2 separate regions of the Homo sapiens genome follow, and region 2 is linked to region 1. The links are contacts of gene promoters, found by promoter capture Hi-C in human tissues and cell types (Jung and others, 2019). All regions are on one chromosome and are shown on one strand. The core of a region is centred on a gene start or on the middle of the fragment in contact, and the rest is flanking DNA. Distances in the headings are between cores, read along the strand shown. Region 1 holds the start of IRX1 (iroquois homeobox 1). Region 2 has its middle 74 kb from the start of IRX1.

Region 1 (7,681 bases), core at 533-3,032:
TCCCCACCAACCCTCGGCGTCCCCACAAACCCAGCCCGGAATCTATGTAAAAGCAGGAAAGGAACCCTGGAGGTTGTAGGCGGATCCTGGAGTGTGGAGGGGCGAATTGAGCGCGGGAAGCAGCATGACTAGCAAGACAATCTGACTCAGAGCAGGGAAAAATCAAGCCCGATGTCGGAGCTGGTTATTAGTAATTACTACCATCACGGGCATTATTGTTGCTAATTATAGGCGATGTCTCAGTGTCTGTCCTCAGGCCCGGAAAACCGGAGCCCCTCCTGATGCTGCTGAAGTCCCTGGGCCTCGAGGCTCCGTGAAGAGAGGGAAGCGAGGCAGGGGGTGAAGGGACCGCCTGGCCGGTGTCCAGGATACGGGTGGCTCAAACCACCAGCAGAACAGCATGCCGACTCTGGCCCGATGGCCGCCTTCATCCCGTAGCCCCAACCCGGCCTAAAGCCGAGAAGACGCCAGAGTGCGCTGCTGAAATTCCCGCGGAGTCCGGTGTGCTGGAGAGCCGCAGCGGGGTGAACTCCCGGCCCCGTCTCTGCGTAGGAGGTGGTTCGCAAAGTGGCCCCGGGAGCCGGGACTGGTACCCGGTTCCCCACGGCACCGTCCGGAGCTCTCCAGCCACGAGGCGCAGAAGTGGCCTGCCAGCGCCTTCCCAGGCTCAGGGAGGCGAGGAGGCCCGTGCACTTGGCATCTTCTCCCGGGAGCCGCACGGCCAGGGCCGCGGCGAAACGGAGCCCATCTCAAGTGCGCCGCGCCTGGCCGCGTCCTGTAGCCCGACGAGGCTGAGGATGGAGAGGGGAGACGCAGGGAGAAGAGGGACGCGGGACTTGGACCCAAGAGGCCGCTCCGTTGCCGGTCTGGCGGCGGCGCCGACTCGGGTTCGCGCGTTCCACACAAGTTTCCTGTCTGCCTCTGCACACCTGGTGGACAAACCGGGCGTCCAGGCCACACCGTCTTCCCCCTTCGCGGGGGCGCGGGGGATGTTTCCCTCCGGCTGCCAGGGGGCTTTCTGGGTGAAGAGAAAGCCCCTCCCCCCGCGTCTCCCCCACCCCTCCCTCCGAGAACCCGCGGCGCCGACTGCGCCTGCTTCCCCCGAGCTGGCGACTTCTCCGCGGGATTTGCCCTCGCTCAAAGTTTGCACAATTGAAAGAGCCCGCAGAGCTCGGCCGCTCCCCGCTTCCCCAAGGGCGGCGAGGCCGGTCATTGGCAGACGATCGGTTACTACCCAGTAGGGGCCCACGGGAACCCGCATCTGGAGTCGGGGGTGTCACGCCACGCCGGTTCAGTGGCTCGCGGAGAGCGTCCGGGTGCACTTCTGCCAAAGATGTCCCCTGGAGGCCCCGGCCGCGCGGGACTCGGGGGAGAGGCCGCTCCCCCCTCGCTGTCACCAGCGTCCAGGCCGCCGGCCCCTTCCCCGCTGCCCAAACAGTAGAAAAGCAGGCGCCAAGTTGTTTTTGTTAAAAAGGGGACACACCTCGGCCGCGAAACTGCAAACCCGGTGTCAGACAGCTGTAAACCCGTGTCGACAGGTTGTCAGACAGCTGCGGGGGCTGGTCGGGAAGGAGCCCACGGCCTCCGGGCCCACACCCCGCCGCCCCGACGCGCGCGCCCACCGCGAGAGTAGCTGGCCGGGCCGGCACGGGGCACCACGTGCTCGCGGGAGGGGCGGGAGCGGCCGGCGAGGGCGGGCGGGAGGCAGGGAGGGGGCGGGAGGGGAGCCAGGGGCGGGGCCTGCGCTCAAGGGGATGCCAATCAAAGCATCAACTTCAAATTGTGTCTGAAAGCCCCGCCGCCGAGCGGAGGGCGGCCGCCGCAGTCGGCGCGCGATTGCGGATCCGGGCGCAGCCGGGAGCCGGGCGCCTGCGAGCACCGGGCAGAGGAGCCGCGACCGGCCTCCATCTCCCGGCCCGCCCGAGCGCGCCCGGCCGGCCGCCCGCTCCTCCCTAGACCCCTCGCGGCGCCCCCTGCAACCCCCTCCGGCCGGCCTCCGCCTCCCTCCCCGCGCCTTTAATACTCGCCCGCTGCGGCGGTCGCCGAGTCCGCGGACATGTCCTTCCCGCAGCTGGGCTACCCGCAGTACCTGAGCGCCGCGGGGCCGGGCGCCTACGGCGGCGAGCGCCCGGGGGTGCTGGCCGCGGCCGCTGCGGCGGCTGCCGCCGCCTCGTCGGGCCGACCGGGGGCCGCGGAGCTGGGCGGCGGGGCAGGCGCGGCTGCAGTCACCTCGGTGCTGGGCATGTACGCGGCGGCGGGGCCGTACGCGGGCGCGCCCAACTACAGCGCCTTCCTGCCCTACGCCGCGGATCTCAGCCTCTTCTCGCAGATGGTGAGTGCGCCCGGCCTCCCCCGCTTCTCCTCTGTCTCACCCGCGCCAGGGCAAGGGTGGCGGGTCGCCCGGGAGGGAGAGACTACGGGTGGACCTGGTCCGGAAGAGGAACTAGAAAGGTCCGGGGGCAGGTTCCCGGTGGCCGAGGCCGCGGCCCCCGGGGACGCAAGAGGGCTGGGAGGCCGGGCGGGTGACGGCTGGGCCATCTCGGCCTGGGAAAGCGGAAGGCCCGGGCCAGGGAGCGGGTAGCGAGTGAATTCAGAGAGGCCGCAGAAGCAGGCCCGTGGAGCGGTGCCCGCGCTGGAGGTCGGGGGCAAACTCGCCTGGCTCGGCCAGGGCGCCCGGGCAGGCCCACGGGGTTCCTGCAGGTCGGCCCGGCGTAGCGTAGCAGGACTTCCCTTCCTGGCCGCGGGTTCCACTCGCGCGGCCTCTTTAGTTTTCGAACCGAGTCTGGAAAACTTGGTTTTCTCCCTCTTTAGCAGCTCCGAGATAGTTGTATCCGAGTTTGCCAGACAGACCCCTTCTAAGCCTGGTAGAGTCAATCAAAATAATCTTAACAATAGAGGTCCAAAGGGATGGAGAGGTCTCTCCACGGCGTGAGTGCGAATTTGAGATTAAACAAAAATTAAGTTGCAGTAATGTGCTGGTGTCTGAAACGGTGTTTGATTTTACTTTTGTAAGTTGCCCAAGTTTTCATTTCATTTGCACAGAAAGAAAAGCACTTTTCTTCCTGCGTTACATAATGGAGGATTAAAGAAAACAGTGTCCCTTGGCTTAAAACAAATGGTGTCCTCTTAGTCTCCCGTCCCAGTGGGCGTTAGATGTCGGGGCAGGCGGCTGCACACTTAATTCTCCGCGGGGGCATTGGCCTGTCTGCCGGTCCAAATCATCCATTTTCCTTGGTCTGACTGCAAGGTCGGTGCTTAAACTTCGGACGGCTGGTGAATTGTGCGGCGGGCGCGGGGCCCTGGGAGGCAGCCCCCTCCTGGGTCGCTGCCCGCGGGATAAAGCAATTTCCAAGCACCCGCGATATCTCCCCGCTCCCCGCAGGAGAAGCGGGGAGTAAACGCCCCTCAAGTGTGCACAAGCAAAGAGCGGGTTTCCCTGTAACTTTTCTTGTAGTTTTGAAAGAAAGCGGCCCGGCTGCCTTTCAGGTCTCTTACTATCGAAAAAGATCAGCCCCCATTTTGTTCAGGCGGCGGGGAGGCCGGGACGCGATGAGAGATTTACAAGGTGTCCTTTCAAAAAGAATTCCCAGTGGAGACGAGGCTGAAACGTCTTCTTTACAATTACAACCAAAATAATTAGAAAAGCGCAAAGTACATTTTGGAACGATTGGGCAAAAACGAAATCTAGCCGCAGAAATGTTTTCTCTGCGGCCTCAGTCACCAAACTAATTAGTCCAAGAAATCTTCTGGTCTTTACAACTTTCTCAGAGTCCGGAACTCCCTTTGCTAACATTGCAACTAGACCATTTTTTCAGAGGATGAATATTTTTTACAGAAATTGCGAATGCAGTTGTGTGCCATTTGGGAACCCTGCCTGTGTTTGCGGGGGAGGGAGAGAGCTTCAGTGTGAGGACCTGCACCCTTTGTGGAGAGCTGGGGAAGGGAGATGTTTGCTGTTCTGAGTTGTTTTTCCCACCTAGAGGGATAATATGTAAAAATTATTCCCACCCAAAAGGTGTGTGTTTCTCCAGCTCTCCCACTGGTTCTGAGAGAGTAAACTCAAACCCAAACCCTGATTCTAGGCCTAGGTTTCCAAGCCATTATAATTGGGTGTTTGGAAGTCAAAAGATAAAATTGTATTTGAATGTCTGTCTGCGCAATTTATGGTAATAATGAGGCCTAATGAGGTTGTTAGAAAGATAAAATGTTATTTACCAAAAAACCTGATGGGATAATTTGACTTGCTGTGTTTTACTACTGATTATAAAAAGAATATCGATTGCAAATAAATCAGCGCCTCTAAATGCCTGCAAACAGCTAGTGTTTGCTCCCTCCAGATCAAAGTCAAACTTAAGAGATGAAGTAACTGAGAAGAGGCCTAGGATACTGAACCGGTTCCCCTCCTGGCCGCCGGTGGCTCCCAGCCCTTGCGTTAATATTTTACAGGCTAAGCCTTCCTTTTGTATTAAAAAAAAAAATGGTGTTTTTGTTATTGTTGTCGATGATGGCCGGGATTAAAATTTTAAATTACCTGTCACCTCTAAAGACCTTTTAATGTGGGTAAACCATTATATGCAGATTAATTTGGAAGGCAAAGGACTGTGCTTTCGTTTTAAATTGCTGGCGGATTTAGACCGGTAGAAAACCCGGGATGGTTTATTTTGATTGAGCCCCCTCTGGGTGGCAGAGAGGAGGCTTGGGCTCTGGGCCCTTTACGTTTGGAGAAATGGCTTTATCAGCTCAGTTGAAAGGTTTTTCCCTCTAGCTAGTGAAAGATAAACTTGGAAATGCAGGTTTCTCCAGCGGTTGGTGGTGGGGACAGGGGTCGCCTAGGGAACTTGCAGGGGCCGCGGCCTCTGTTGTGCTCTTCTGGAGAGTGCACTGTTTGTGGAACTTTTCTAGAGTGGCAAAAACGATCTCCACTGTCGGTGAAAGGGCAGTTCCTGAAGTCAGCTCATGGTCCTGGCTCCCCTTCTCCCCAGCAGTGAACTGGGGGTGACTTCCTGATCTGCCCAGCACAGGAGAGCCCCGCAAAGCGCCTGGGAGGCCCTCGAGTCCATTGAAGCGGCTGCTTCCCACTCTCCCGTCTTGGGGACTCATGTCTCTCTCTCTCTCTCCCTTTCTCTCTCCACTTCCCTCCTCTCTCTCCTCGATGGATCTGCCCTGTGGCTTCAGGGCTCGCAGTATGAACTGAAGGACAACCCTGGGGTGCACCCCGCCACCTTCGCAGCCCACACGGCGCCGGCTTATTACCCCTACGGCCAGTTCCAATACGGGGACCCCGGGCGGCCCAAGAACGCCACCCGCGAGAGCACCAGCACGCTCAAGGCCTGGCTCAACGAGCACCGCAAGAATCCCTACCCCACCAAGGGCGAGAAGATCATGCTGGCCATCATCACCAAGATGACCCTCACGCAGGTCTCCACCTGGTTCGCCAACGCGCGCCGGCGCCTCAAGAAGGAGAACAAGGTGACATGGGGAGCGCGCAGCAAGGACCAGGAAGATGGAGCGCTCTTCGGCAGCGACACCGAGGGCGACCCGGAGAAGGCCGAGGACGACGAGGAGATCGACCTGGAAAGCATCGACATTGACAAGATCGACGAGCACGATGGCGACCAGAGCAACGAGGATGACGAGGACAAGGCCGAGGCTCCGCACGCGCCCGCAGCCCCTTCTGCTCTTGCCCGGGACCAAGGCTCGCCGCTGGCAGCAGCCGACGTTCTCAAGCCCCAGGACTCGCCCTTGGGCCTGGCAAAGGAGGCCCCAGAGCCGGGCAGCACGCGCCTGCTGAGCCCCGGCGCTGCAGCGGGCGGCCTGCAGGGTGCGCCGCACGGCAAGCCCAAGATCTGGTCGCTGGCGGAGACAGCCACGAGCCCCGACGGTGCGCCCAAGGCTTCGCCACCACCACCCGCGGGCCACCCCGGCGCGCACGGGCCCTCCGCCGGGGCGCCGCTGCAACACCCCGCCTTCCTGCCTAGCCACGGACTGTACACCTGCCACATCGGCAAGTTCTCCAACTGGACCAACAGCGCATTCCTCGCACAGGGCTCCCTGCTCAACATGCGCTCCTTCCTGGGCGTTGGCGCTCCCCACGCCGCGCCCCATGGCCCTCACCTTCCTGCACCTCCACCACCGCAGCCGCCGGTCGCTATTGCCCCGGGGGCACTCAATGGAGACAAGGCCTCGGTCCGCAGCAGCCCCACGCTCCCAGGTACAGCTCCAGGCCGCGTCCACCTGTCCCCTAGCTGGGAATGCAGAGGCCTGGCTAGGTGTGGTAGCGTGGGGTGCAGCATGAGCCGGGAGGGTACCAGGCAGTGGCCGCTGAGCCCTGGGGCTGCGCTTAATCCCTGCTTCAATTTAGAAAGCCAGACAAGGCCCTAGGGCTCTCCCAAGAGAGCTTTGCCCTACCGGCGGGCCTGCTACGGGGTGGTGGTGGGGTGAGGGGTGACGTTTTTCGGCGAATCTGCCTGGGCAGCCGGCAGAAGTTGGTGGGAAGGAGGCCTGGGACCTCTCCCGCCCGTCTCTCCGTCCTAACTCTGCCTCTTCCGATCTCTCGCAGAGAGAGACCTCGTCCCCAGGCCAGATTCGCCGGCACAGCAGTTAAAGTCGCCCTTCCAGCCGGTACGCGACAAGTGAGTGCTGTTTGCTTTTGCTATGGGAGAAGGCGGTGGGGAGGGGGGAGGAGGAGTGGTCGGGACCCGGGCGGAGCTGGCTGGGTGGCGGTGGGGGTCGCGCAGTCCTAGTTGAAGGAGCGCTCCCCGCCAGCCCTGGGCGCCGGGCGAGCCGAGGAGACTGGAGTTTCTCCCCAGCCGGGAGCCGCGCTGGCTGTCGACCCCGCCCCCAGGGCTCCGCTACTGGAACCGGCGTCGCCCGGCGCTGCGTCCCCCACTCACAGTGCCCCTGTCTTCTTGTCTCGCTGTGTTTCCCATGCAGCTCTCTGGCCCCGCAGGAGGGAACGCCGCGGATCCTAGCAGCCCTCCCGTCCGCCTGATTAAGGGTCTTCTTTTACTTTTGCGGGGGGGAGGGGGGAGGAGTTGGGGAGGGAGGGAATGTGGGAGGAATTAAGACAAATATTTCAGACTGGTGTAAAGGACAAATATGACAACGACGTCAAGGACTCGCATCCGTCGCTTTCTGCAGAAAGGGGCTTCTTCGGTCCCGAGCTCGCGTCCAGGTGGCCAGGCCTCTGCCGGCGGCTCCAGTGGCTGCGATTATCGGGTTCGGTAAATGCCCCCACGTGCTTGTGTCTCTTTCCCCCCTTTTCTGTATATAGAGTGGTTTCAGATTGTAAATAGCGCGTCAGCGAACTTGTCTAAATCATATATTTTTGTCTAATAAACTAAATGAAATGACACCCCCTCCCCGCTCCTGCTGCTGTGTGCCTGTCCAGCGTGTGTGTGAGTGTGTGTTTGTGTGTGAATGTGTGTGTGTGAGTGTCTGTGTGGCAGAAACAGAGACAGAGAGAGAGAAGTGGGGGATACAGGGATCCTGGAACCCTGGGTGGGACCCAAGGGTCTGTGGCTGGGGGAGATGGGCTTCTCAATGGGGGCCTTTAGAGACTGTTGCCACCCAAGACGCAGGTGCTTTAAACATCTCTTCGTTGTTTGTGGTTGTTGTTGAATTTTTAAATATTGTCACTGTGGCAGTTTCTTGCTGGCAGTTCAATTGCTTTCACGAACAT
Region 2 (7,420 bases), core at 2,678-5,177, 74 kb after region 1:
TGGTTCTGTTTATGTGATGGATGACATTTATTGATTTGTGTATGTCGAACCAGCCTTGCATCCTAGGGATGAAGCCGACTTGTTTGTGGTGGATAAGCTTTTTGATGTGCTGCTGGATTAGGTTTGCCAGTATTTTATTGAAGATTTTTGCATCCATGTCCATCAGGGATATTGGCCTGAAATTTTCTTTTTTGTTGGGTCTCTGCCAGGTTTTGGTATCAGGATGATGCTGGCCTCATAAAAGGAGTTAGGGAGGAGTTCCTTTTATTCTATCATTTGGATTAATTTCAGAAGGAATGGTACCTGCTCCTCTTTGTACCACTGGTAGAATTCGGCTGTGAATCTGTCTGGTCCTGGGCTGTTTTTGGTTGGTAGGCTACTAATTACTGCCTGAATTTCAGAACTTACTATTGGTCTATTCAGGGATTCGACTTCTTCCTGGTTTAGTCTTGGGAGGGTGTATGTGTCCAGGAATGTGTCCATTTCTTCTAGATTTTCTAGCCTATTTGCGTAGAGGTGTTTAAAGTATTTTCTGATAGTAGTTTGTATTTCTGTGAGATCATTGGTGATAGCCCCTTTATCATTATTTATTGTGTCTATTTGATTCTTCTCTATTTTCTTCTTTACTAGTCTGGCTAGCGGTCTATCTATTTTGTTAATCTTTTCAAAACACCAACTCTTGGATTCACTGATTTTTTTTTGAAGGGTTCTTCATGTCTCTGTCTCCTTCAGTTCTGCTCTGATCTTAGTTATTTCTTATCTTCTGCTAGCTTTTGAATTTGTTTGCTCCTGCTTCTCTAGTTCTTTTAATTGTGATGTTAGGGTGTCGATTTTAGATCATTCCCATTTTCTCCTGTGGGCATTTAGTGCTATACATTTTCCTCTAAACATTTATTTAGCTGTGTTCCAGAGATTCTGGTACGTTGTGTCTTTGTTCTCATTGTTTTCAAAGAACTTATTTATTTCTGCCTTCATTTCATTATTTACCCAGTAGTCATTCATGAGAAGGTTGTTCTGTTTCCATGTAGTTGCGCAGTTTTTAGTGAGTTTCTTAATCCTGAGTTCTAATTTGATTGCACTGTGGTGTGAGAGACTGTTTGTTATGATTTCTTTTCTTTTTTTTTTTGAGACGGAGTCTGGCTCTGTCACCCAGGCTGGAGTGCCATGGCGTGATCTCAGCTCACTCCAAGCTCTGCCTCCCAGGTTCACACCATTCTCCTGCCTCAGCCTCCTGAGAAGCTGGGACTACAGGTGCCCACCACCACGTCCGGCTAATTTTTTGTGTTTTTAATAGAGACAGATTTTCACTGTATTAGCCAGGATGATCTCGATCTCCTGATCTCATGATCCGCCCACCTCAGCCTCCCAAAGTGCTGGGATTAGAGGCGTGACCCACTGTGCCAGGCCTATGATGTCTGTTCTTTTGCATTTGCTGAGGAGTGTTTTACTTCCAATTATGTGATTAATTTTAGAATAAGTGTGATGTGGTGCTGAGAAGAATGTATATTCTGTTGACTTGAGGTGGAGAGTTCTGTATGTGTCTATTAGGTCTGCTGAGTCCAGAGCTGAGTTCAAGTCCTGAATATTCTTGTTAACTTTCTGTCTCATTGATCTGTCTAATATTGACATTGTGGTGTTAAATTATCCTACTATTATTGTGTGGGAGTCTAAGTCTCTTTGTAGGTCTCTAAGAACTTGCTTTATGAATCTAGGTGCTCCTGTATTGGGTGCATATATATTTAGGATAGTTAGCTCTTCTTGTTGCTTTGATCCCTTTACCATTATGTAATGCCCTTCTTTGTCTCCTTTGATCTTTTTTGGTTTAAAGTCTATTTTATCAGAGACTAGGATTGCAACCCTTGCTTCTTTTTGCTTTCCATTTGCTTGGTTAATCTTCCTCCATCCCTTTATTTTGAGCCTATGTCAGTCTTTGCATGTGAGATGGGTCTCCTGAATACAGCACATCGATGGTTCTTGACTCTATCCAATTTGCCAGTCTGTCTTTTAATTGATGCATTTAGCCAGTTTACATTTAAGGTTAATATTGTTATGTGTGAATTTGATCCTGTCATTGTGATGCTAGCTGGTTATTTTGCCTGCTAGTTGATGCAGTTTCTTCATAGTGTCAATGGTCTTTAAAATTTGGTATGTTTTGCAGTGGCTGGTACCGATTTTTCCTTTCCGTATTTAGAGCTCTTGTAAGACAGGCCTAGTGGTGACAAAATCTCTCAGCATTTGCTTGTCTGTAAAGGATTTTATTTCTCCTTCACTTATGAAGCTTAGTTTGGCTGGATATGAAATTCTGGGTTGAAAATTCTTTTCTTTAAGAATCTTGAACGTTGGCCCCCACTATCTTTTGGCTTGTAGGGTTTCTGCAGAAAGATCTGCTGTTAGTCTGACGGGCTTCCCTTTGTGGGTAACCCAGCCTTTCTCTCTGGCTGCCCTTAACATTTTTTCCTTCATTTCAACCTTGGTGAATCTGATGATTGTGTGTCTTGGGGTTGCTCTTCTTGAGGAGTATCTTTGTGGTGTTCTCTGTATTTCCTGAATTTGAACCTTGGCCTGTCTTGCTAGGTTGGGGAAGCTCTCCTGGATGATATCCTGAAGAGTGTTTTCCAACTTGGTTCCATTCTCCCCATCACTTTCAAGTTCACAAATCAAACGTAGGTTTGGTTTTTTCACATAGTCCATTTCTTGGAGGCTTTGTTCGTTCCTTTTTTTTTCTCCAATATTTTCTTCATGCTTTATATCATTAAGTTGATCTTCAATGTCTGAAATCCTTTCTTCCACTTGATCAAGCCAGCTATTGATACTTGTGTATGCTTTACAATGTTCTCGTGCTGTGTTTTTCAGCTCTATCAGGTCATTTATGTTCTAAACTGGTTATTCTAGTTAGTGATTCCTCTAACCTTTTTTCAAGGTTCTTAGCTTTCTTGCATTGGGTTAGAACATGCTCCTTTATCTCAGAGGAGCTTGTTATTACCCACCTTCTGAAGCCTACTTCTGTCAATTCATCAAACTAAGTTTCCCTCCAGTTTTGTCCCCTTGCTGGTGAGGAGTTGTGATCCTTTGGAGGAGAAGAGGCATTCTGGTTTTTGGAATTTTTAGTCCTTTAGTGTTGTTTTTTTTCTAATCTTCATGGATTTATCTACCTTTGGTCTTTGATGCTGGTGACCTTTGGATGGGGTTTTTCCGTGGATGTCCTTTTTGTGGATGTGGATGCTATTCCTTTCTGTTTGTTAGTTTTCCTTCTAACAGTCAAGCCCCTCTGCTGCTGGTCTGCTGGGAGTTTGCTGGAGGTCCTGTCCAGACCCTGTTTGCATGGGTATCACCAGTGGAGGCTGCAGAACAGCAAAGATTCTGTTTCTTCCTCTGGAAGCTTTGTCCCAGAGGGGCACCGGCCAGATGCCAGCCAGAGCTCTCCTGTATGAGGTGACTGTTGACCTCTACTGGGAGGTGTCTCCCAGTCAGGAGGCATGGGGGTCAGGAACCCACTTGAGGAGGCAATCTGTCTCTTATCAGAGCTCAAACACTGTGCTGGGAGATCCACTGCTCTCTTCAGAGCTGGCAGGCAGGAAAGTTTAAGTCTGTTGAAGCTGTGCCCACAGCTGCCCCTTCCTCTGGGTGCTCTGTCCCAGGGAGATGGGAGTTTTATCTATAAGCCCCTAACTGGGGCTCTTGCCTTTCTTTCAGAGATGCCCTGCCCAGAGAGGAGGAATCTAGAGAGGCATTCTGGCTACAGGAGCTTTGCAGAGCTGCGGTGGGCTCCACCCAGTTTGAACTTCCCCTTTACACTGTGAGGGGAAACCCACCTACTCAAGCCTTCGTAATGGTGGATACCCCACCCCTGACTAAGCTTGGGCATCCCAGATTGACTTCAGCCTGCTGTGTTGGAAGAGAGAATTTCAAGCCAGTGGATCTTAGCTTGCTGGGCTCCATGGGGTGGGATCAGCTGAGCTAGAACAATTGGCTCCCTGGCTTTAGCCCCCTTTCCAGGGGAGTGAATGGTTCTGTGTCAGTAGCATTCCAGGTGCCACTGGGGTACAAAAAAAACTCCTATAGCTAGCTTGGTGTCTGCCCAAATGGACGCCCAGTTTTGTGCTTGAAGCCCAGGGCCCTGGTGGTGAAGGTACCCAAGGAATCTCCTGGTCTGTGTGTTGCAAAGACCACGGGAAAAGCATAGTATCTGCGCCAGAATGCACCATCTGTCATGGCACAGTCCCTCATGGCTTCCCTTGGCTAGGGGAGGGAGTTCCCCGACCCCTTGCACTTCCCAGGTGAGGTGATACCACACCCTGCTTTGGCTAGCCCTCCATGGGCTGCACCCCCTGTCTAACCAGTCCCAGTGAGATGAGCCATGTACCTCAGCTGGAAATGCAGAAATCACCCGCTTTCTGCATTGATCTGGCTGGGAGCTGCAGACCAGAGTTGTTCCTATTCAGCCATCTTGCCAGCCACTCGAAGACCAAGTTTTCTTAAGTTATGCAGATACGACCTTGAATTAGTTCAGATTTCCCTGTGAGGACATAACTTCATTACATTTACAGGAAAGGAAAATACAAATATTATGTTAAAGCATCAAGAGCAGTCCAATTCCTTTATTGATTAGCTTCCCGGCCTTGCTCCCTGAAGTGACCTTTTGTTGTTGAAAAGCCACATGGATGAGATGAGCAAAAGAGGTGAGAAGCAGTGATTGAGACAATGCTCATTCATTGGTGAGCTTCTCTCTGCAAACAAATACAACTATATTAATCCCCCTTCAGAGACTTGACCGTGTTTAAAACATGAAAATTTTTGAATACCTAATACAATATTATGGTTCATAATTAAAACAAACAAATAAATAAAAGGATATTTAAAAAAGAAAACACCTCCCTTCCTCTCCTGTGGCTTAGCCACCTTTCCTTTCTAATAGGAAACTGACATTGCTAGGATCTGTGTATCGCCAGAGATACGTTCTTGTCCGCATAGCCATGCACAATTGCTTCTGCACAGTGGCAGAAGACTACACACGGTTCTGCACCTTCATCTTTTCAAATATTTACTTACTAGTGTAACTTTATCCCCTCCCCATATGTGGATACAGTTATCACATATTTACAAAGTTCTTGTGCAATTTAAAAACTTTAATCTATGGTAACAATCTTATTGCTCACCATCCTAGGCATATTTGGATGTTCTCAATAGATTCCTACAAGAGGACTTGATGTGGGTTTGGGATACATGAACAAACTCCACATGGGACTTGGGTAATCAGTGATTTTCCAGGGAGTTTGAATATGTCTTCCATGTATGTTCTTCATAGTATTTGCTTGTTTAGTGTGAATTTGTACCTTTATGTAAAGAGGATAAGGCTGCCGAGAGCCACAGCCTGCAGCTCAGTTGCTAGTTTAGGGATTTACCTATTTATTTGGCATCTAATGTGTGCCAGCACTGTGCTGAGGACTGCAGAATCGAAGCTGACTCAGGCACAGATATGCCTTCTGAGCTGTGTCCAGAGGAACCCATGGGCCAGTGGGGAGGGAGAATTGCAAGCCAGTTGATTCAATCCAGCGTGGACTGATGTAATGTGATGTGGTAGGGAGGGACACAGACAGGGAGAATGCACCCTGCTGGGAGAGAGAGGATGGAAGGTGACTGAGATGAGTCACATGGGAGAAGCAGGTGTTTGCAGGGAGATATCTGAGAGCAAGGCAGTGCTGTGGCCAGGCTTTGTACTGGGGAGTCATGAATGTTCAATGTGTGTGTGCCCCAGGGCCCTGCTGGTTGCTCTGACTAAAGGCCCGACTCCCACCTCCTAACCCTGGGGAGGGAAATTTTGGTTCACATAATCGAAAAGTCTGGGGTAAAAGGCTCAGGCCTGGGTGGAAGGAAAGACTGAGACAGTGGCGTCATGGCTTCCTCTTGCCACTTGGCTGCATTGCTTGTTGGGTTTTAGCCCTGCTCTCTCCTGTGTGAACGGCTTCCTTACAAGCCAGGGAAGAGGGTCTCCTTGCTCATGGTGTGTGGTCTTTGCTGCTCTGAACCCCTGAGTGATAAACAGAGTCCACCCAACACCTCTAGTAGAAACTTGTGTGGACTCGACTAAGACCTGTGCCGCTCCTGGACCTTAACTGTGTTGGGGGTGAGCAGAGGCTCAGCGAGGCTTTGTCTGTGATGGTGCTGACCTTGTACTCCAGAGGCTGTAGGGGGCAGGAAGGGCCAAATAAGCCCCCAGAGAGCCACACGAAACAAGGGTAAGAAAAGGCCCTGTGGAGATACTTTCTGTGCTGAGCTGAGCAGCATAAAGGAGATGCCATTGGGTTTGGCCAAGACCCTTCCTAAGACGGTTCCTCAACTGCTGGATAACCCCGGGGCTGGTGGGGCCAAGTGAGGTATGGTGACCCCAAAAAGAAAGGCTGCCTGCTTCCTCTGTGTTTTGTTTGGCAAAGGGGCTGCCCAGGCATGTGCTCAAGGCCTCCCCCGAGCTACACAGCCTGGATCAGCAGGCCCACCGGGCCATGGCTGGAGTGTGCAGGGAGCCTGGGCTCCCAGTGCCATCAGGTGGACTCTCAGTGAGTGCCCTTCTGTCCCTGCTTCACCCACATCACCCATCCCCATGACATGGCAGCTGGGAGGGTTGGGTGGGATGGGCACTTCTCCACCTCAAGGGGAGAGCGCTGCCTGGTCTGAGCCCTCTGGGTTAACCCTGCCCCACTGCACTATGCTCACACATTAGGACTGTGCAGTCAGGATGAATCCCAAAAGCCTGCCCTGATGTGAGTGGAGACACTTGTCCTAGGAGCTGCTGTGACACAGGGAACAACTGCCAAGGCAGAAGTAAACACACAGCAGTCACAGAGCCGGGAGAGCCAGAGGAACTGAGCCACAGCCCTGAGGTCACAGTGGCCACGGGGTCAAGCCCACCTAAGGCCCGCCTTACGTCTGTGATATGGTTTGGCTCTGTGTCCCCACCTAAATCTCATGTTGAATTGTAATCCCCACATGTGGAGGGAGGGAGGTGACTGGGTCATGGGGGCAGTTCCCCGATACTGTTCTCGTGATAGTGAGTGAGTTCTCACATGATCTGAGGGGTTCACAAGCATCCAGTGTTTCTCGTGCTTGTGCTTTCCTTTCTTTCCTGCCACGTGAAAGGTCCAAATTTGCTTCCCCTTTGCCTTCTGCCATGATTGTAAGTTTCCTGAGGCCTCCCCAGCCATGTAGAACTGTGAGTCAATTAAAGCTCTTTCTTTTATAAATTACCCAGTCTCGGGTATTTCTTTATAGCAGTGTGGGAAGGAACTAATACACTCTGGAATTCTTCCTTTTACTGCTAAGGGCTTCTTGAGTCGTGTTTCCTCACTTACCACCCCAGAACTCCAAGTTGGGGTACTGCCCGTTGGGTTTCCAGGGTAAATTCAGGGAGTCTTGGTCAGGCCTT

What was found. The method cuts DNA at HindIII sites, captures the fragments that hold promoters and counts their contacts. A contact is called where the count stands out against the background at its distance.
Region 2: a contact is called between a fragment that was not itself captured here and the fragment with the promoter of IRX1 in region 1, in 3 of the 25 tissues and cell types used here (bladder, small bowel and spleen).

What each region holds. Positions count from the first base shown.
Region 1 is chr5:3,594,050-3,601,730 of GRCh38, forward strand. IRX1 (iroquois homeobox 1) reads left to right here and starts at 1,783. Exons shown (of 4, transcript NM_024337.4): 1 at 1,783-2,332; 2 at 5,176-6,211; 3 at 6,560-6,632; 4 at 6,934-7,354. The coding sequence starts at 2,057. The coding sequence ends at 6,991. RefSeq lists a silencer at 1,486-1,780 and enhancers at 4,646-5,308, 5,309-5,970, 6,634-7,294. The HindIII fragment of the contact is 23,247 bases long and covers 1-7,681 here.
Region 2 is chr5:3,665,916-3,673,335 of GRCh38, forward strand. No RefSeq gene overlaps it. Among named protein-coding and RNA genes, the nearest start is that of IRX1, 74 kb to the left of the region's middle. The HindIII fragment of the contact is 5,481 bases long and covers 1,188-6,668 here.